Regions from separate parts of the Homo sapiens genome. Here regions 2, 3, 4, 5, 6 and 7 are each linked to region 1. Evidence: promoter capture Hi-C in 16 types of primary human blood cells and fetal thymus (Javierre and others, 2016). All regions are on one chromosome and are shown on one strand. Each heading gives the region's core, a stretch centred on a gene start or on the middle of the fragment in contact. The rest is flanking DNA. Distances are from core to core; before and after follow the strand shown. Region 1 holds the start of CLDN23 (claudin 23). Region 2 has its middle 64 kb from the start of FAM85B. Region 3 holds the start of PPP1R3B (protein phosphatase 1 regulatory subunit 3B). Region 4 has its middle 77 kb from the start of PRAG1. Region 5 has its middle 32 kb from the start of FAM85B. Region 6 overlaps PRAG1 (PEAK1 related, kinase-activating pseudokinase 1). Region 7 has its middle 14 kb from the start of FAM85B.

What was found. The method cuts DNA at HindIII sites, captures the fragments that hold promoters and counts their contacts. A CHiCAGO score of 5 or more calls a contact.
Region 2: a fragment that was not itself captured here is called in contact with the fragment with the promoter of CLDN23 in region 1 in 12 of 17 cell types (total B cells, naive CD4 T cells, M0 macrophages and 9 more); the score reaches 10.3 in total B cells.
Region 3: a contact is called between the fragment with the promoter of PPP1R3B here and the fragment with the promoter of CLDN23 in region 1, in 1 of 17 cell types (fetal thymus). The highest score is 5.6, in fetal thymus.
Region 4: a contact is called between a fragment that was not itself captured here and the fragment with the promoter of CLDN23 in region 1, in 6 of 17 cell types (naive CD4 T cells, M0 macrophages, monocytes and 3 more). The highest score is 8.1, in naive CD4 T cells.
Region 5: a contact is called between a fragment that was not itself captured here and the fragment with the promoter of CLDN23 in region 1, in 16 of 17 cell types (naive CD4 T cells, naive B cells, total B cells and 13 more). The highest score is 27.7, in naive CD4 T cells.
Region 6: a contact is called between a fragment that was not itself captured here and the fragment with the promoter of CLDN23 in region 1, in 2 of 17 cell types (M0 macrophages and total B cells). The highest score is 7.1, in M0 macrophages.
Region 7: a contact is called between a fragment that was not itself captured here and the fragment with the promoter of CLDN23 in region 1, in 5 of 17 cell types (M1 macrophages, M2 macrophages, total B cells and 2 more). The highest score is 8.2, in M1 macrophages.

What each region holds. Positions count from the first base shown.
Region 1 is chr8:8,700,562-8,703,261 of GRCh38, forward strand. CLDN23 (claudin 23) reads left to right here and starts at 1,376. Exons shown (of 1, transcript NM_194284.3): 1 at 1,376-2,700. The coding sequence starts at 1,838. RefSeq lists a silencer at 1,109-1,728 and an enhancer at 1,202-2,169. The HindIII fragment of the contact is 12,864 bases long and covers 1-2,700 here.
Region 2 is chr8:8,290,049-8,292,748 of GRCh38, forward strand. No RefSeq gene overlaps it. Among named protein-coding and RNA genes, the nearest start is that of FAM85B, 64 kb to the left of the region's middle. The HindIII fragment of the contact is 1,342 bases long and covers 661-2,002 here.
Region 3 is chr8:9,149,287-9,151,986 of GRCh38, forward strand. It overlaps PPP1R3B (protein phosphatase 1 regulatory subunit 3B), which reads right to left and starts at 1,372. Exons shown (of 2, transcript NM_024607.4): 1 at 1,277-1,372. PPP1R3B-DT (PPP1R3B divergent transcript) reads left to right here and starts at 2,439. Exons shown (of 5, transcript NR_183348.1): 1 at 2,439-2,630. RefSeq lists enhancers at 772-1,720, 1,767-2,006 and silencers at 1,357-1,626, 2,127-2,376. The HindIII fragment of the contact is 22,346 bases long and covers 1-2,700 here.
Region 4 is chr8:8,308,427-8,311,126 of GRCh38, forward strand. No RefSeq gene overlaps it. Among named protein-coding and RNA genes, the nearest start is that of PRAG1, 77 kb to the right of the region's middle. The HindIII fragment of the contact is 7,345 bases long and covers 1-2,700 here.
Region 5 is chr8:8,258,589-8,261,288 of GRCh38, forward strand. No RefSeq gene overlaps it. Among named protein-coding and RNA genes, the nearest start is that of FAM85B, 32 kb to the left of the region's middle. The HindIII fragment of the contact is 1,027 bases long and covers 834-1,860 here.
Region 6 is chr8:8,326,272-8,328,971 of GRCh38, forward strand. It overlaps PRAG1 (PEAK1 related, kinase-activating pseudokinase 1), which reads right to left. Exons shown (of 6, transcript NM_001080826.3): 5 at 1,439-2,190. Among named protein-coding and RNA genes, the nearest start is that of PRAG1, 59 kb to the right of the region's middle. The HindIII fragment of the contact is 1,080 bases long and covers 776-1,855 here.
Region 7 is chr8:8,240,534-8,243,233 of GRCh38, forward strand. It overlaps the pseudogene FAM86B3P and the pseudogene ALG1L13P. Among named protein-coding and RNA genes, the nearest start is that of FAM85B, 14 kb to the left of the region's middle. The HindIII fragment of the contact is 5,273 bases long and covers 1-2,700 here.

The sequences.
Region 1 (2,700 bases), core at 126-2,625:
TGAATGTATGTCATACCAATGAGCTGTACACTTAAAGATGGTTACAACGGTCAACTGTATGTTACATATATGTTACCACAGGTTTTTTTTTTAATTTAAAAATATTCTTTTAAAAAAAGCAGTCACTGTCATTCCTAGTGTTGTCCACTCTGGAATATTCAAAATTATTTCAAACCAATGCTAAATTAACTTGAATTTTAAAAATAGTTTTAATTTTAAACAATTATAAAGGCAATACGTTTTCATTGTAAAAATCTAGAAAATACAAAAAAGTGTTATTAAAGGATAATTTTTAGAAAAAATGTAAACATCGTGACTTTCACACAAATATAAAATGAATATGTGTGAAAGAGGTTATTTAACTCATTATTGAATAAGGAAACCAGTATGATGTTAAAACCAAAGAAGCTGGCCACTTGCCTGCAGTCCTAGCTACTCCAGAGGCTGAGGCGGGAGACTCACCTGAGCCCAGGAGTTTGCAACCAGCCTGGGCAACACAGCGAAACTCCCCAACCCTGTTTAAAATAAATAAATAAATAAATAAATAAATAAATAAATAAAAGAAAAAGGAAAAAAAAAAAGCAAAGAACAAAAGGACACACATATACAGACAAACAGGAATGCTAAAATGAATTTACAAATCAATGCCATACTGGTCAGTATCCATTGGACAATAATCATTCCACTGGGACGAACTCATTAGCCTTGATGTTGGCAAAAGTCATTTGCAATACTACAGGCTTTCTATAATTTATAGAGTTGTAAAATAACCTACAGACGAGAAAGGCCACAGTACACTGTAAAATTAAATAAACCTGCAAAAAACGCTAAGCAGGACATCCGGGAACACTGGTCCCTCTTTCTAGTCCCCTTGAAAGTCTCACAAGGCTGAAAAAGGAAAGTAAAATCCTTGTGTAACCCTTCTGCCCAGAAGTACACTGGCACAGATTCTTTAGAGACGAATTTAATCCAGAGTGTGGAGCCTTTATTAAGGAAATAATCCGGTGCAACGTTCTGGGACACGCTCCTGGACTGGGTGGGCTTCTGCACACTCACCCAGCGCACCTCCAATCCCCGGGAGCGCTCGGCACCGCCCACTTCTCTGCGAGTGGCTGCAAGTTGCAGAGCAAACCAGGGGGCGATCTGGAACCCTCTGGGAGTAAAGGGCTAAGCTATAAGCGCAGGGTCGACGGGCAGGGACCGGAAACAAATTCTAGGAACCGAGATCCGCTGAGCAGCAGGGAAGCTGCGCAGCCACCGCGTCCCGCCAGCGCCGCCTCTTTCCCTCCCCGCCCACCGCCCGCCTGGCCCGGCGGGGCGGCGCGAGGACCCAGGGGCGGGGCGACCTTTGCTCCGGCCGTGAGCAGTCCAGGCCAGGCGTGGCCCAGCCGCCCGGCTGCAAGGTGGGGTGTCCCCGCCGCTCGGATCCCCATCTCACCTGCCGCGGGCGAGGTGGCCCCGCCGCTTCCTGCGCTCACCTCGGGTCCCTCCCTCCCGGGCCAGGTTTGGCCGCGGCAGCCGCCCCTGGGCGCCCGCGCCCGGACCCGCGGTTTCGGTCAGACCCGCCCGCGGGCTGGTTTCGATTAGGGCCAGTAGGAGGGCGGAGCGGCCGGGACGCCAGGAGGGAACTAGCCTAAGTGGGGACGGTCCCCGTGCAGGAGACAAAGAGCGTCCCTGGAGCGATCAGGGCTCAGGAGCCCGACCCGGAGCCCGGGGCGTCCGCGCTGACTTCGGGTCCCCGGAGCCTGGGGCACGGCAGGGAGAAGACGACGGCGGAGAAGGCGACAGCGGAGAAGGAAGGCAGGCTGCAGGGGCGCCGTCGGCGCGGCGGGCCGGGATGCGGACGCCGGTGGTGATGACGCTGGGCATGGTGTTGGCGCCCTGCGGGCTCCTGCTCAACCTGACCGGCACCCTGGCGCCCGGCTGGCGGCTGGTGAAGGGCTTCCTGAACCAGCCAGTGGACGTGGAGTTGTACCAGGGCCTGTGGGACATGTGTCGCGAGCAGAGCAGCCGCGAGCGCGAGTGCGGCCAGACGGACCAGTGGGGCTACTTCGAGGCCCAGCCCGTGCTGGTGGCGCGGGCACTCATGGTCACCTCGCTGGCCGCCACGGTCCTGGGGCTTCTGCTGGCGTCGCTGGGCGTGCGCTGCTGGCAGGACGAGCCCAACTTCGTGCTGGCAGGGCTCTCGGGCGTCGTGCTCTTCGTCGCTGGCCTCCTCGGCCTCATCCCGGTGTCCTGGTACAACCACTTCTTGGGGGACCGCGACGTGCTGCCCGCCCCGGCCAGCCCGGTCACGGTGCAGGTCAGCTACAGCCTGGTCCTGGGCTACCTGGGCAGCTGCCTCCTGCTGCTGGGCGGCTTCTCGCTGGCGCTCAGCTTCGCGCCCTGGTGCGACGAGCGTTGTCGCCGCCGCCGCAAGGGACCCTCCGCCGGGCCTCGCCGCAGCAGCGTCAGCACCATCCAAGTGGAGTGGCCCGAGCCCGACCTGGCGCCCGCCATCAAGTACTACAGCGACGGCCAGCACCGACCGCCGCCTGCCCAGCACCGCAAGCCCAAGCCCAAGCCCAAGGTCGGCTTCCCCATGCCGCGGCCGCGGCCCAAGGCCTACACCAACTCGGTGGACGTCCTCGACGGGGAGGGGTGGGAGTCCCAGGACGCTCCCTCGTGCAGCACCCACCCCTGCGACAGCTCGCTGCCCTG
Region 2 (2,700 bases), core at 82-2,581, 410 kb before region 1:
GAGGATACGATAAGGTTGTTTTTCATTTTGCTTTCAAATAAATAATCATCGGTAGGAAAAGGAGATTTATTATATGTATAAACATGTGTTCTCTGTGCAGGGGATATCAGATGTATGCTAACTCTTTTGTGTAAAGAGATCATGTCTAAATCCCTTGAGTGGCTGTTCAGCTAACGTTTAGAGTCTCTTAATCTTGTATTTGATGCTAAACCAAATAGGCCCTTAGGGAAGAATTAAGAATAAGCCAGACAGTATAAAATTCTTATTTTGTTAAAGTTGAATAGTATTTGTTGCATTAGGTACAACCAGTGTAATCACTATGAGGGTTAGTTGAGTATACTCTCTGTACACATACACTCTAAAATAAAATGACCTAGGTATACAGAAGGACTAAAGGGATTAAAGATTTCTATCTTATTATTTGACATTGAGAGCACTGCCCTTTTGTTGAAACAAAATGTCATTCAGATGAATAGATAAGGTCATACCTCCAACATCACAATGAATCTAAATCGCGGTAAAAATAAGTTGAGTAACAAATTTTTACTTAAAAGCCATCAAATTTTATTTTGTGTTTTTGAGTCTTGGATTTTGTGCACAGAAACATTCTAATATTGTTTAAGCAACAGGGAATAGAAAAGATTAATCAGTAATTAGCAAAGCTTTAAAAAAATGAAAGTGAACATGAGTCCTAAGACACGCTGTGATTTTTGCTTTTTGTTGCTGTTGTCGTTGTTATTGTTGTTTTCGCTTTGTCTTCCAGGCTGGAGTGCAGTAGCATGATCATAGCTCACTGCAGCCTTGGACTCCTGGGTTCAAGTGATCCTTCCACCTCAGCTTCCTGAGGAGTAGTGGGGGCTACAGGCATGTGCCACTGCATTTGGCTAATTAAAAAAAAATTTTTTTTCTGGTAGAGCCAGGATCTTGCTGTGTTGCCCAGGCTGGTCATAAACTAACACTGTGATTTTTTAAACATGAGCTCTCCTTTGGGCTGGCAACGTGATAAAAGAAAATATGTTTTTCTTCTGAGGAAAATAATTATTTATGAACACATTTTTTCTTCATTAAAACATAGATTTAGCCCTAAAGTCTAAGTCAAAATAAAAACAACTTAAATATTGCTCCATAAGGCTAGTAGTTGGTAATTTTTGTTTTTTTTTTTTTGAAATGGGATCTCACTCTGTCACCCAGACTGGAGTGCAATAGTCAAATCTCAGCTCACTGCAAACTCTGCCTCCCGGATTCCGGCGATTCATCTGTCTCAGCCTCCTGAGTAGCTGGGATTACAGATGTACACCAGCACACCTGGCTAACTTTTGTATTTTTAGTAGAGACAGGGGTTTCACCATGTTGACCAGGCTGGTCTCGTACTCCTGACCTCAAATGATCCACCCACCTCAGCCTCCAAGTGCTTGAATTACAGGCGTGGGCCACCATGCTTAGCTAGTTGGTAATCTTTTAAGGTGAGGTTGCATTTACAGTAGTCAGTTGCGTTTACTGCCCTCGCCCCACATTTTGTTTTCAGGGATTCAGTGGAATTTGTTCTTATATTTATTTGTGAATAAGATTACATATTTCACTTTTTTCCCTTTCTTCTCTTTGGCTGTTGCTGTGCTGCATGCTTTAGTAATTATTACCAAGCCCCACCCTCGCTTCCAGATACCCAGGTGGCTTGTATTTTGTACCATGGCTCTGGTAGGGATGTGCTGCCTCTCCTGGATGCTACACAGGGTGCATTGGCCATGCTCAGGCTGAGCATCGCCTGGCTGCTGGTGCTGCAGCCCCTGCCACCCTCTCTGGCCCTGCTTGACATCACTGCCTCCAATTAGCTGCTTTCACTGCAGACACCCTAGAGCCCATACAGCAGATGCTGAGGTACTGGAACCTCAGGGTTGGGGAGGAGATGCTGAACTGCATAATATTCCTTGGAAAAGTGGGAGAGAATTCTTGCCTCCCTTTGAGGGCTGTACTCCATTAAACTGGTCCAGAAGTTTGGGTATAAAGCTTATACCCAAAGGTTTTGAGAAACAGGCATTTTCACTTTTAATTATATGATTACCTCTACTCTTTTTTTTTTTTTTTTTTTTTTTTTTTGAGACAGAGTCTCCCTCTATCGCCCAGGCTGGAGTATGGTGGTACGATCTCGGCTCACTGCAACTTCCACCTCCCAGGTTCAAGCGATTCATTCTGCCACCTCAGCCTCCTGAGTAGCTGGGATTATAGGCTCCCACCACCACACCTGGCTAATTTTTGTATTTTTAGTAGAGATGGGGTTTCACCATGTTCCCCAGGCTGGTCTCGAACTCCTCACGTTAAGTGATCCACCTGCCTCAGCCTCCCAAAGTGCTGGGATTACAGGTGTGAACCACCGCACCCAGCCCCTACTCTATTTAAAATAAGATTCAGGCATGAGTCCACTAGGCTGGACCAGGGAAAGATCTGAAAGACAAACACAGCCATTCTTCTCCCGGATAACTGACTCTTCAGTCTTGGAAGACATGGGCCGGCCTGCTCCTCTTTCCCCTTGGGACAAGTTTTACTTATGTGTGTATTTTTCTTCCCCGGGAGTCACTTGGGTTTTCGTGGAAATAGACTGCTGTTTGCCAAAGCCACGTCTGGGTCCCAGAGTTGATGTATTCAGACAGCACTGTCAACATACTCTAGCTAATGCAACGCTGGCTGGTGAGAAGAGCAGGAAAG
Region 3 (2,700 bases), core at 122-2,621, 450 kb after region 1:
TCAGGAGATCGACACCATCCTGGCTAACACGGTGAAACCCCGTCTCTACTAAAAATACAAATAAAAATTAGCTGGGCGTGGTGGCGGGCGCCTGTAGTCCCAGCTACTCAGGAGGCCGAGGCAGGAGAATGGCGTGAACCCGGGAGGCGGAGCTTACAATGAGCCAGAGATGGCGCCACTGCACTCCAGCCTGGGCGACAGAGCGACACTCCGTCTCAAAACAAACAAACAAAACCAAACAAACAAAAAAATCAGATGCACAAGCAACCCACCAGGAACACTGAAAGCTGCCGAACTGCATTCAGTAAACATTCACAACCAGGTTATAATTTTCATTTTTAAAGACATGGCCATCTACCTCCCTCCAACAATTCTGTGTTCCCTTCCAAAAGGTTTCACTGATCCAGCATGAAGAGAGTGCATGTCTTTCCCCTTTGTACTCAGACCATGGGGGCCTATTCACAGCCTTAAAGGCTCCTTGTACCCCTTGATCCTGTCCCCATCATCCAAAGCATCTTGGAGACTGACATTTGTGAATACAGTTGCATATTCTAGGAAAGAGGCAAGTTCAAATGACACAGCCCCTGCCGTCTAAAAACGTACGAGGGAAAACAGAGTACTAGGCTAAGAATGCCCGCACCTTGCTTTGCTACTTGAGCGAGTCACTCAGCTGCTCTGGGCTTGAGGTCCCCTCCAAGGTCCCTGCTGGCCCTGACATTGTATGTTGCGACCCACCCCTGGTGCCGCTTCTCTTCCCACTAACTTTTTTTCCTAAATACCTCAACTGTACTTTTGTGTAAGTCCTCCAGCTGTCTTCACTTTAGTTTTGGCTCCTGGACAACTCTGCCCAAGGAAACATTTCCTCCTCTCCTCCTCTTCCTCCCAGACCAAAGCTCTAATTGTCTCTTCTGCTGCACCCTGGGTCTCCCAGGCAGGCCCCCGCCACTCAGACCACAGGTTCCAACACCTTCCAAGTCTCCAAGTTCCCAAGTCCAGTCTTTCCTCTGTTTTCTCCTCTTTTTCAGAAAACAGTGCTCTGACAGGCCCCAAATCTTCCAGTAAGTCATTACCGGCCCCCACTCCCTCTTTTGCAGCTACTGTGCCTTCCACACCCCTTTTTCTGGATTCCAAAGAGACGCAGGAGCAGGCCAGTGCTCTCCAGGCTGGAGGATCCCACAAGTTACTCTCCGACTCTGTCCCCTCCGTCCAGTTTGACCAGGGCTGCACTCCGCCCCCAACCTCCCTACAAGCCTCCTTGGCCTCGCGCCGCACCCACCTTTTGGGCCGCGGAGAAGCCCCCTCCCCAGCTCGCTCGCCGCATCGGAGAGCCCGCAGGGTTGTGGCAAGCGCGACTACGTGAGCGTCGGTGTGTCCGGGAGGCAGGGCCTGGGCTGGGTTCCCGGAGATGTCGGCGGTGGGAGGAAGACGACGAGGAGGAGGAGCCCGTTATCGCACCCGGGCGGGGCCGGCAAAGGGGCAACCCCGGCCGGAGCAAGCAGCGCGACACCAGCACCCCCGCGCGGCCGCCTGGCCTCCGCCAGCCCGGGACGGGGATCGTGCTAGGTCCCGTCGCCCTCGGTGGCCTGAGAGCCTACCAAGTGTATTTCCTCGCGTTTTATAGGGAAAATAAGGCCCGGAGAGAGACGAAGCGGCTTGTCCTTAAGCTCCAAACCCCACTACCCAACTTTGGAGAAGTCTCCAGACCTCTCGGGACCCGGGGCTGGGAACTTGTGCTAGTTTCGAAGCCAGAACAACAGGTGGTAAAGGGATCAGCCGCCGCAGCCGCAGCTCCCGGGTCACGGTCGCAGCCGGGCCCAGCAGCGCGGTGGAGCACGTGGGCCCGGGAGGCGCTTCCCAGCTGCGGTCCCTGGATCGCCCTCTCCACGCTGAAGCAACAGCTCCCTGGGGCCAGCTACCTAGAGTGTTCCAGCCCCGGTGTGCCAGTGCAAGTCGCACGGTGAAAATGTAGGTGACAGGAACCCAAAGAGGTCCCCGCTGCACGCCCTCGCCTTGTTGTCCCCAGCCCTTCCCTCGGACTCGAGACTTGGGGAGCTACGTACCGGGTTCAGCTCATAAGTCCCGAGGGCAGACGCGCCAGCCCGCGGCAGCATACGCCCTGGGGGAACAGGGACAGCTGCCGTGACGGCAGGAGCTGGGCCCGGGCTCGGGTTCGCGCCCCCCGCGGGCGGCGAAGTCCGTCCGTGCACGAGAGCTGCGCGGTCACCTCCTCCCTCCAGCAGTCACCCGGGACTCGAGCTCCCCGCGGCCGCGCTGCCCCCTTTAACTTTCCTGCCAGCTCTCGGGACCCCGGGGTCCATCCCAGGCCCCCTGCCACGTGAACGCCCCCCGCAGCCAATGGGCGCGCCCGGGACTCCAGCCGCCGACCAATGGGCGCGCAGCCACGGCGCTGGGGAGCACCGCTTCGCCACGTGATCGGCAGCGCGCCCGGAGTGATCCGGCTGCGGGCCAGGGTCTGGGAAGGGGGTGGTGGGTCGCCGTTTCATCAGAAGCCGGAGGACGGGCGCCAGGGGGCAACTTCCTACAGGAGGGCGTCCCGTTAGAATGACAGGGCTTTTGCAAAAGTCTGACACCCGTGGCACAGAGCGCCCCAGATATGGAGGGTTTCACAGGTAGGTATACTTCAGAAGAAATTTCCTGACTTGAATCGGTTATAATCGCTATCTAAATCTACAGGGCCTC
Region 4 (2,700 bases), core at 34-2,533, 390 kb before region 1:
TTATTAAACACCTACTGCATACAACGCAGGGGGCAAGGGAATGAGGGAGCAAGCCGTGTAGGACATTGTCACTGCTCTCAATGGTCCTACAGTCTACTCAGTGACAAAGAATATACTTATGTTCAGATTTTTAAAAAACTGCCTGCCTCCCAGGTTCGGAGAGATGCAGTAGTGGATAATTGCAGAGGAGAAAGGGACACTAGCTTTCATAAGCAGGGGAGGACTTTTTTATTTTTATTTTTATTAGTTATTCTTTTTTATTGCTTTTAATTTTGGGGACTACATAGTAAGTGTATATATTTATTGGGTACATGAGATAAATATTATGTGCAATGTGAAATAAGCACATCATGGAAAATGAGGTATCCATCCCCTCAAGCATTTATCCTTAAAGTTACAAACAATCCAGTGACACTCCCTATTTTCAAATGTACAATGAAGTTATTATTGACTATAGTCACCTGTTATACTATCAAATAGTAGATTTTATTCTTTCTGGCTATTTCTTTGCACCCGTTAGCCATCGTCACCTCCCTGCATTGAGCCCCTTGCCACCCTTCCCAGCCTCTGGTAACCATCCTTCTACTCTCTATGTTCTTGAATTAGGTGTGCCTTGAGCCAAACATTGAAGGACTGGCTGGGTGTGGCGGGTCATGCCTGTAATCTCAGCACTTTGGGAGGCCAAGGTGGGCGGATCACCTGAGGTCAGGAGTTCGAGACCAGCCTGGCTAACATGGCAAAACCCCATCTCTACTAAAAATACAAAAATTAACCGGTCGTGGTGGTGGGTACCTATAATTCCAGCTACTCGGGAGGCTGAAGCAGGAGAATTGCTTGAAGCCGGGAGACGGAGGCTGCAGTGAGTTGAGATCATGCCGCTGCAGTGAGTTGAGTTCATGCCACTGCACTCCAGCCTGGGCAGCAGAGTGAGACTCCATCCCAAAAAAAAAAAAAAAAAAAACTGAAGGACGGGCAAGATGCTGATGGGTAGCCAGTAAACACTGGGGTATACACATGGAGGTACAGTGTACTTAGTAGAGAATGGAAGGCATGCAGCCTAGACTCTAGTCCTGAATTTACACTTCACTTATCATTTCACTTTTCCACACCTTAATTTTCTCTTAAAATAGAGATTATCTTTCTAGATTTCTCCATATATCAGAGGAATGTTTTAAGAAGGTAAAATAATATTTCAAATAACAAGACTTTAAATCTTGGAGCAGAGAAGTCAAGTAAACAAAGACACTCTTATTCTGTCATTCATAGTTTTCCAACATTGTCATCAGACACCAAACTAAAATCTTCTGTTCAAGCAACCCAGGGAGTCTTTGAATGACAGGTCAGCGGCATTAATGAATTCCTTCCTCAGTGCTCAGCCCACAGGGATCTGTGAATGAAAATGAGACAGAGGACCCGGATGTAATGCCACTTTCCGTTTGCTAAACTGAGTAGTGTCCATTTACAGAAACACAGATACCCCGCAGAGCCCAGCTGTGGCCATTATCAGGGCTTGTATTATGCTCTTAACATCTCTGCAGGAATATTCACTGTCTGTCTCCTGCATTATTTCCTTTCCTTCCCAATAACTTTAGAGTTACCACAAGGGAAACACTCCAGACCTCACCAGGCCTGTCCAACTGAAGGTCATGATTCCAACCCTCCATCAAACTGCTACCAGAGGCCTGTGCCCCAGTGAAAAGCCGTTTTATGAGAGCACCTGTGACAGGTGTTGTTTAGAAATGGTTATCTTGGGCTGGATGTGGTGGCTCACACCTCCAATCCCAGCACTTTGGGTGATGGAGGTGGGAGGATGGCTTGAAACCAGGAGTTCTGGACCAGCCTGGGCAACTTAGTGAGACCCCCATGTCTACAAAAAATTAGTCTGGTATGGTGGCATGAACATGCAGCCCCAGCTACTTGGAAGGCTGAAGTCGGAGGATCACTTGAGCCCAGGAAGTCAAGGCTGCAGTGAGCTATGATCATACCACTGCACTCCATCTGGGCAATGGAGCAAGGCTCTATCTCAGAAAAAAAAAAATAGAAGTGAATATCCTACCAAAAGAATGAATGACTGCCATAGCCATTTAACATTGCCCTTGGTTTTCTTCATTTTGACTCTTTCTCCAATGAACTGTTGCCTTTTCAGAGATGAAACAAAGGGGGTAGTTGGGTAATAGGCCAGGGCCCAGCAGCTGGTTCCAGTGAGGCCTGTCTGCAGGATGAACGCTGTGATCAAATGTGTGACTCATAGTTGGGAGGTGTCTGCCAACCCCGGCTGCAGGGCACAGTCGGCACTGACCGGGAAGGCAGGCTGATCTGCACCCTTGTCTGCTTCCTGTGCTGGGAGCGCAGCCCCCACCCCACCTCATTCCCCCAACCCTATCTCCACATGGAATTGTTCCACTGGCTGTCACCCAGGGAGCCCCTTCTTTCTACCCATGTTCAGTTGGGTACTTGAAACAGCACATGACTCATGTTGTACTCAGCCAAGACTAACAGCATCAGGCTTCTATTGTTCAAGAGCTGACTCCAAGTTCCATGAACTATTTCAATGAGTGGAGTCCTTGTTGCTTACATTGCAGCTCTCTAAAGTCATGGAAAGAAATGACCACACTGGAGGCACAGAAAAGCCAAGGCACAGAGTAGCACAACCTTGCTCTTCCTTAAACACTATCTCTGAAAGATCATCCTGAAGCATTT
Region 5 (2,700 bases), core at 97-2,596, 440 kb before region 1:
CCTCCACCTCCTGGGTTCAAGTGATTCTCCCACCTCAGTCTCCTGAGTAGCTGGGACCACAGGCATGCAACACCATGCCCAGCTAATTTTTGTATTTTCATTAGAGACAGGATTTCACCATATTGGCCAGGCTGGTCTTGAATTCCTGAGCTCAAGTGATTCACCCACCTCAGAATCCCAAAGTGCTGGCATTACAGGCATGAGCCACCACACCCAGCCAGAACATTCTTTTATTATCCCTTTAGGATGTATAGAATCCATAGTGATGTTACCTCTCTTATTCTTGACATTAGTAATTTGTGTCTTTTCTCTTATTTCCTAATAAGACTGGCTACAGGTTCTCATTTTAATTTTTCTCCTTAACAAAACAGCTTTTGGTTTTATTGATTTTTCCTCATTGTTTTATTGTTTTCTATCTCATTGATTTATATTCTTCATTATTGCCTTTCTTCTGCTTACTTTGGGTTTACTTTGCTCTTCTTTTACTTCTTTCTTCAAATGGAGGCTGAAGATATTGAGTAAGATGTTTCTCCATTTCTAATATAGGTGTTTGGTGCTTAATTTCCCTTAAACATTGTTTTAACTGCATCTCATAAATTTTCTTTTTCAACTATTTACTATATCTTTTTGGGATATTTTAATTGTATTACTTGGTTTCCAAATGCTTGGGGATTTTCTAAATATCTTTTATTTATATCTACTTTATTTCCATTGTGATCAGAGACCACGCTTTGTAGGATTTTAATCTTTTCATATTCATTGAAACGTAATTGATGGCCCAGAATATGATCTATCTTGGTAAAATTTCCCTGTACACCTTGAAGGAAATCAAAAGCTTTCTCTCCAAAATGTTGAGGATTATTAAGTTAGAAAGACGGAAAGCTCAGGGCAGCAGTATGCCTCAGCATCTGTGTGCCTGGCAGCAGGACAGCAACCCTTCCTTACCAGAGATGGCAGTTGTTTGTCAGCCCAGAGAAGGTACCAGCAGGCACCAGAAGAATCAGGGAACAGATTTTACCATCTTCCCACATTTTCCCACCTTTTCCACAAGACTGTAACTGCTTTCTTCTTTGTCTTAGAACTGTACAGGACACAGGGCTCTTTGTTAAAATACTATTTAAGCAAGGCCTGTTGTATCTACCAAGCTAGGGACAGGGGTTACAAACACGTCCAGGGCAGAGTTCCTTCCCTCGAGGAGTTCACAATATGTGTGAGAGACATGTACATTCACAGTGGCCATGCAAAGTGATAAGTGGCTTTTGAAAAGGTAATGTGTACACTGCTATGGACCCTGAGGGAGGGGAGAATGACAGACAAAGCAGAAGATTCCAGAAAACCTCCAAAATAATGGGAGCTTTGACTCAGCCCAGAAGGACCTCCTCTTAGCAAGTCTCCTAGAGGCCAGTCTGTTTAGAGCTGCTGTCTGTTACATTTTCTTCGGTCCCTTTACCTAACGTCTCCTTCAGCTCCCTTAGCCTTGGCAAAAGGCAGAGGAAGAGGAGAAAAGCATTTCCATCAATGGAGTCATTTTGCGTCACAGGGCACTACATGTGGTGATGTGGCTAGAACGGTCCTTGTAAAAATAGCCTGAGCAGCTAATATCCAGTCAGCTAAACGGACCCCATTGCCATTTAGTGTCCGCACTTGTTTCAGTAAAGGCTGAAACCAAGTACAACATATGAAGTCCACAGCCTCCACGTGTGTACACCAATGCCTTCCTTCCACAAAACAGGTACTCAGTGATCATTTGCTGCTTGGAATTCATATCATCAGCTGAGCTTAATCAAACAAAATCACCCTTCAGAGACTACTAACCCATGAGGCTATAAAGTAAGTCCATTGATTTTTGTTCATCACCTAAGCTTCCATAATGGAAATTAATGAAATTGAATTTTAAATGAATGAATTTAAAATGAATGAAATGGACATTAATGAAATTATCTCCTTTGGGAAGGTTCACCCAATATAAGCTGCAACTTTGGGAATAAAATGGCAAAGGTAACAAAACAGCTGTATTGGTTGTATTAAAGTGGGCAGAGGAATGAAAAAGAAACAGGCTGATTACGGAAGGAGACAGTGCTGATCTTGTGCCTGTATCAGAGAGGGCATCCTCCCTGGCAAAAAAGGAAGGGAGAGAGGCTGAGAGCTCTCTATGCCTTGAGTGGATAAAGGCGGCACAGATTCTCTTAAGTGGCTCCAGAACTAAGCAGCAAGTGAAGGGGCTGAGATTGGGACCAGTTCCAGCCAAAGGGCTCTTCATCACTGCCAGCTGCCACACAAGTGGCCACTTCTGGAAACAGGCACCTGATCAGGAACTCCCTTCCTGCAACCTACTTCTCTTTTGCACATTGAGGAAGTATTCACTGGGCACCCGTCATGTCTTGGGCGTTTTGCTTTGCTTGAGGGACATGCCCTTGAACTGCAGTTCCCCTTAGCCTACTTCTGGATGAATGTGAATTTCCTCTATTCAGTACATCCAAAACAACATACGGACATGAAACGGATAGTAGGAATAAGAATATAGCTGCTATAGGCCAGGTGTGGTGGCTCATGCCTGTAATCCCAGCACTTTGGAAGGCCGAGGCAGGTGGATTACTTGAAGTCAGGAGTTCAAGACCAGCCTGGCCAACACAGCGAAACTCTGTCTCTACTAAAAAGACAAAAGTTAGCCAAGCATGGAGGCATGTGCCTGTAATACCA
Region 6 (2,700 bases), core at 66-2,565, 370 kb before region 1:
AAATATTGTTTAATATTATTTTTAAAATGTTAGCAATATTATTTTAAAAAATTGTTGGTAAGCAAGCTACCCCACCAAGGCCATTTCAAATTAGCTTATTCTTTGCACTTTTCTAACTGGAAAAAAAAGCGATGTCTTAGGGCAGGTGATGAGAGAAGATAGCTCAGGGTCTCCCTCCTGACTCCCAATAAAAGCCCACATTTATAGAAGGGCCAGGGTCTCAATAGGTAATCAAGGAACAGCAAAAGAAGATGACAAATAGGGCCACAGGAAGGACTGGAGTTCATGGTAGAGACTCCAGTGGCCCAAATGGGTGCAGATGGCTCAACTAGCTCACACAGAGCTGCACTCTGACAGTGCAATACAGTGTGGGTAGCAAGAGGCCTGATCCAGCATCAAAGGTTAAAGAGCTGTGCTGCCTTGAGCTAGTCACTTAATGTCTCTGAACTTCATTTATCTTAAATGGTAGGGACATAACTTAGGCTTTGGAGACAGACACAGAAGAGCTCAAATCCATTCCAGCCACCAACTAGCTATGGGCAAATTACTTAACCACTTTGAGCCTCAGATCCTCCATCTGTAAAACCTACCTAACCTGTAGGATTACTGTTAGGATTAGAGGTAAGAGTCTAGTTGTAGAGTGAATGCTCACACAAATGATATTATTACTATTATTGTTCAAGATGATTCCTAGGTCGAATGCTCCTTCTGGATCTAACATTAGAAGAATGACCTCATTATCCATCTCCCTCACTACATCATAGCTCTATAAGGAAGCTTATATTCACACCTACATACTCAGATTGTGGCAAAGTACCTGGCCTATAGTAGACACTCAATAAAAACCTGGTCAATAAATGAATAAACTCTCCGTTGCACTAAAAGGCAACTGTTTTCTTAACTCAGCTAAAGCACAGAATGTGTCTTATATTCATACTACAAATCTCATTGCACCATGTCCTGGGGCAGAGAGAGAGTGAAGCTGCTGAGCACTAAGTGTTAAAAGAATGCTTAGGGGTCAGGGGTGGTGGCTCACACCTGTAATCCCAGCATTTTGGGAGGCCGAGGTGGGTGGATCATCTGAGGTCAGGAGTTCAAGACCAGCCGGGCCAATATGGCAAAACCCCATTTCTACTAAAAATACAAAAATTAGCTGGGTACCGTGGTGCACACAGATAATCCCAGCTACTCAGGAGGATGAGGCAGGAGAATCGCTTTAAAATGGGAGGCGGAGGCTGTAGTGAGCCAAGATTGTGCCACTGCACTCCAGCCTGGGCAACAAAGTGAGACTCTTATCTTACAAGAAAAAAAAGAATGCTTAGGAATCAACTCCCCTCCTAATGCCCAGACAGGTGAAATGACTTGCTCAGGCCACAGTTCTGCCCAAGCCAGCACCAGCCAGTGGCACAGCAGAATGCAAGGAGGGAGTGGTACCTACTTTCACAGCATAGGTGCTGCCGGGGTCCTCAGAGCAGGTGGCACAGTAATAAATGGCATCCCCCGAGTCACAGCAGGGCTTGTTACAAGTCAGCTTGAAGAGCGACCAGTTATTCTCATTGAAGTGGAGCTCCTTTTTCTGGCCGCCCATGAAGAGGTCCTCACATTTGGCTACAAGGCGGGCCAGGGACTGGGTGTAGAGTCCCCCCAGCTTGGCATAGGTGCCCTCCTTGCTGCTGATGTTGCTCAGGAGACCGTGCAGCTGAAGCTGGGTGCTCCCGGTGGAGGCTTGACTGGACACGCTCAGCTGGGAGGATGAGGCGGAGGGGGCCCCTTTGCACTGGAGGCCAGGGCTCCCGCAGCCGCCTCTGTTGCCCGCCAGCCCTGCTGCCGGAAGCCAGTGGCCACTGCCTTTGAAAGCTTTCTCCAGAGGATCGGAAGAGGAGAAGACAGGATGGTGGCGGTTCCCGGGGCTCAACGAATAGCTAAAGTGAGATTCGTCGTGGACGTTGGTTTCCGAGTGGCTTAGGTTCAGCTTGGGGCTTGCTGTTCCGGGCTTGGGGGAGCCTTGGGTCCAGAAGAAGCCATCCGGTGAAGAGGCTGCCCGGCTCACTATCTTTTTCTGGGGGAGTGGAGGGGGCTGCTGGGGGCCACTGGGGGACACGTCCTCAGTGGAGCCTGAAGGAAACGGAACGGGAGCAAAGAGCTTCTTCCCGCTGTTGGTGGGCGAGTGAGCCAGCTCAGACGAGGGACCTGAAGAGGAGAGACAGAAACCATAAGACCAAGGCCAGTGCCACTCAATTCCAGGGTCCTGCAGACTTGTTTCCCTTTATTTATTTATTTATTTGGTCAGAGCAATTAATTTTATGTTACTTCTTTTCTATTTCTCTAATAGACAATATATGCACAATGGAAAAAATCAAAATGCAGAAAAGGTATAGATTGACAACTAAGTCTTCCTCCTACCCTGTCCCTCATACTCAGCTCTCTCATCAGAGGAAACCACTGTCAGTAGTGTTTCATGCATCCCTCCAACAATCCAAACAAATGCGTGCCTGCACGCGTGCGCACACACACACACACACACACACAAATTACATAGAAAAGAGCAAACGGTGGCTACTGTTTGGAATAATGCTTTTCTTTCACATCTTGGAGAGATTTTTAAATCAAATATGCAGATCTATTTAATTATTTTAAACAGTCTCACCATAATATATCACCATATGCAAGTATCATAATTTAACCATCCCTTTTTGATGG
Region 7 (2,700 bases), core at 131-2,630, 460 kb before region 1:
GTCCTCAGGTTCTGAGCTGAAGGAGGAGAAAAAAACCCTGTGAGAGGCCACAGAGCAGGCCCAGGACCCAGAACGGGCATCTCCTGCCATGGCAAGGCCTGCAGGCTCCCAACAGTTGGGGTGCCCAGCCGCATCAGCAGCACCAGGCCACCCCTGCCAATCGAGGCATGGGCTTGCTTTCTCTAATATTGTTTCTGGGTGCTAAGGTTACAACAGCAAACAAGACTGACTCATTCCTTTTCTCCACGGGACTTACTGTCTTATCATCCCCTGGACTCAAGATGAGGGTGCTAGGATGCCCTCCCACACCACCCCAGCTTACCCAGGGGCACACCTCAGGGTATGTGGACCTGCACAAAGGTCCCTTCCTTAGCCCCATGAGACACCCCAGGGGACACACAGGTCCACAGATCCTGCCACAGGCCTGGGAACCCATTGGCAGGAGAGTAAGACAGTGCAGGGGTCCACAAACATTTCTTAAGGGGCCAGAGAGTAAATACTTCAGGCTTTGCAGGCCAGACGTTCTCTGTTGCAAAACGCAATTCTGCTATTGTAGCTCAAAGGCGGCTATAGACAACTCAGAAGTTAATGAGTGTGTTGTGTCCCAATGAAACTTGATTTACAAAAGCAGGAGACTGGCCTGTAGCCTTAGTTTGCCAACCCCTGGATGAGTGGGTTCCCAGGTCTGCAGTGAGAAGGGGAGAGGCCAGGGCAGTGGCGAGCAGGAGAGAAGGCAGCTGAGGATGGGAGGCCTACCAGGCCCTGAACAGAGAGTGCGTGCTGCCCACCTTCATGAGGAGCCGGTGCTGCAGGTCCAGAGGTGCCTCTTTAAAGAAAGATGCCAGCTTGTCGTAGACGGTCACAGCCCTGCAATGAAATCATGGCAGGACTATTGCATTAGTCCAGCGTGGAGGCTACTTTCTGCTCAAACCACTCATTTGGGTCCCGTGCCCAACGTCACCCATCCTCAGCAAAACCACCATTATTTCCTTCTGCCTGGTTTCCAGAAAGTTCCCCTAAAGCCCTGAGGAATCACCGAATGAAAGGGGCTTTTTACAAACAGGAAACTTAAGTGGAGTGCCAATACACAACATGGATTGCAGCAGGCTCGGTCTAAGATAAAACCAGACGGTGGACAACAGGCCAGGTAAGACCCACATGGTCTGCACTCCCTGGTTCTGTTATTGTGTGGAGGAATGTCTTAGTCTGTTGCTCCTGTGGGTGTAGCTAAAGCACAAACCAGGAGTCCTCATCCTTAGAAAGCAGTTAGACAGACATCTGAGAACCAATCCCAAACTGCAGCCTTCCACAGAACCTTCTGGAACCTTCTGGAATGCAACTTATTACTGCCAGAGGGTCTTTGATGAGAGTCTACTCTCCACCATTTGTCTTCAGAGAGAATACCCACCTATTCTCTTTCCGTGGAAAGGTAAGTTATTGGAGTTTATGCAGTCTGGTATATTAATTGAGAGCTTTACTTCAAAGAATGTCACGTTTATGGTTCAGTCTCACAGACTGGGTTAAAAAGGCAGTGTTGACTATTAAGTTGTAAATTACTATGATGATCATTATTATTGAAGCAAGCTGTGAGAAATGAGCATTATCTTACAATATCTGCATTTTAGTGAACCTGAAGGAAGAGTGTATTGCTGGAATTACAGAAGCCTGAGAACCACAGGGGAATTCTCACTGCAGGGTATTCAGGGTCAAAAGCTGATTCTATTTTGCATGCTCAATCCTTCGTCAATTTATTTTTATTTCTTTCTTTATTTTTTGAGACAGGGTCTTACTCTGTCGCCCAGGCTGGAAGGCCTTGGTGCAATCTCAGCTCACTGCAACCTCGCCTCCCGGGTTCAAGTGATTCTCCTGCCTCAGCCTCCCACGTGACTGGGATTACAGGTGCTCACCACCATGCCTGGCTGATTCTTGTACTTTTAGTAGAGACGGGGTTTTGCCATGTTGCCCAGGCTGGTCTTGAACTCCTGACCTCAAGTGATCCGCCTGCCTCAGTGCCTAAAGTGCTAGGATTATAGGTGTGAGCCACTGCACCTGGCCTAATTTAACAGAATTTAACTGAGCAAAGAATGATTCACAAATCAGACTCAAAAATTAGACACAGAAACAAAATAGGTTCAGAGCAGCTCTGCGCTGCTGCGTAGTCAGAGAAAATTGATGAAGAGAAAAAGGAAAATGATGTACAGAAAAGGCAGTGAGGTACAGAAGCAGACAGATTGGTTACAGCTCAGCATTTACCTTATTTGAATGTGGTTTGAACAGTTGGCAGCCTGTGATCAGCCAAAACTCTCTGATTGGTATATGAATACGAATATTTCACTACCCATTCTTCTGAGCATCTAGGTGTTTTCTATTCACACATTCATTAGGTGTCAGGTCTGTAAAGCAAAAATAAAATTCTAAGGCCCCCCCAACCATCTGAATAGACTTCCTCCTCAGCCAAGACTGTTTTAAAATTTAACCTGAGAGACTATTTCAGGCATTGCCGGGAAGTCGGGGTCAAATATGCCTCATGATACCTGTCAGGCATTAATATCAACGCAGACTTTAAGTCTGGTAAGAAACATTTTACAATCTCATTTCTAAATGCACTTCTTAAAGTGAGGTATTGTTCACTTGGAATATTCCACTGTGATTTTAAATCATCTTTAGTAAGATTTTGACAGTTTTGTAAGTGTTTGCTGC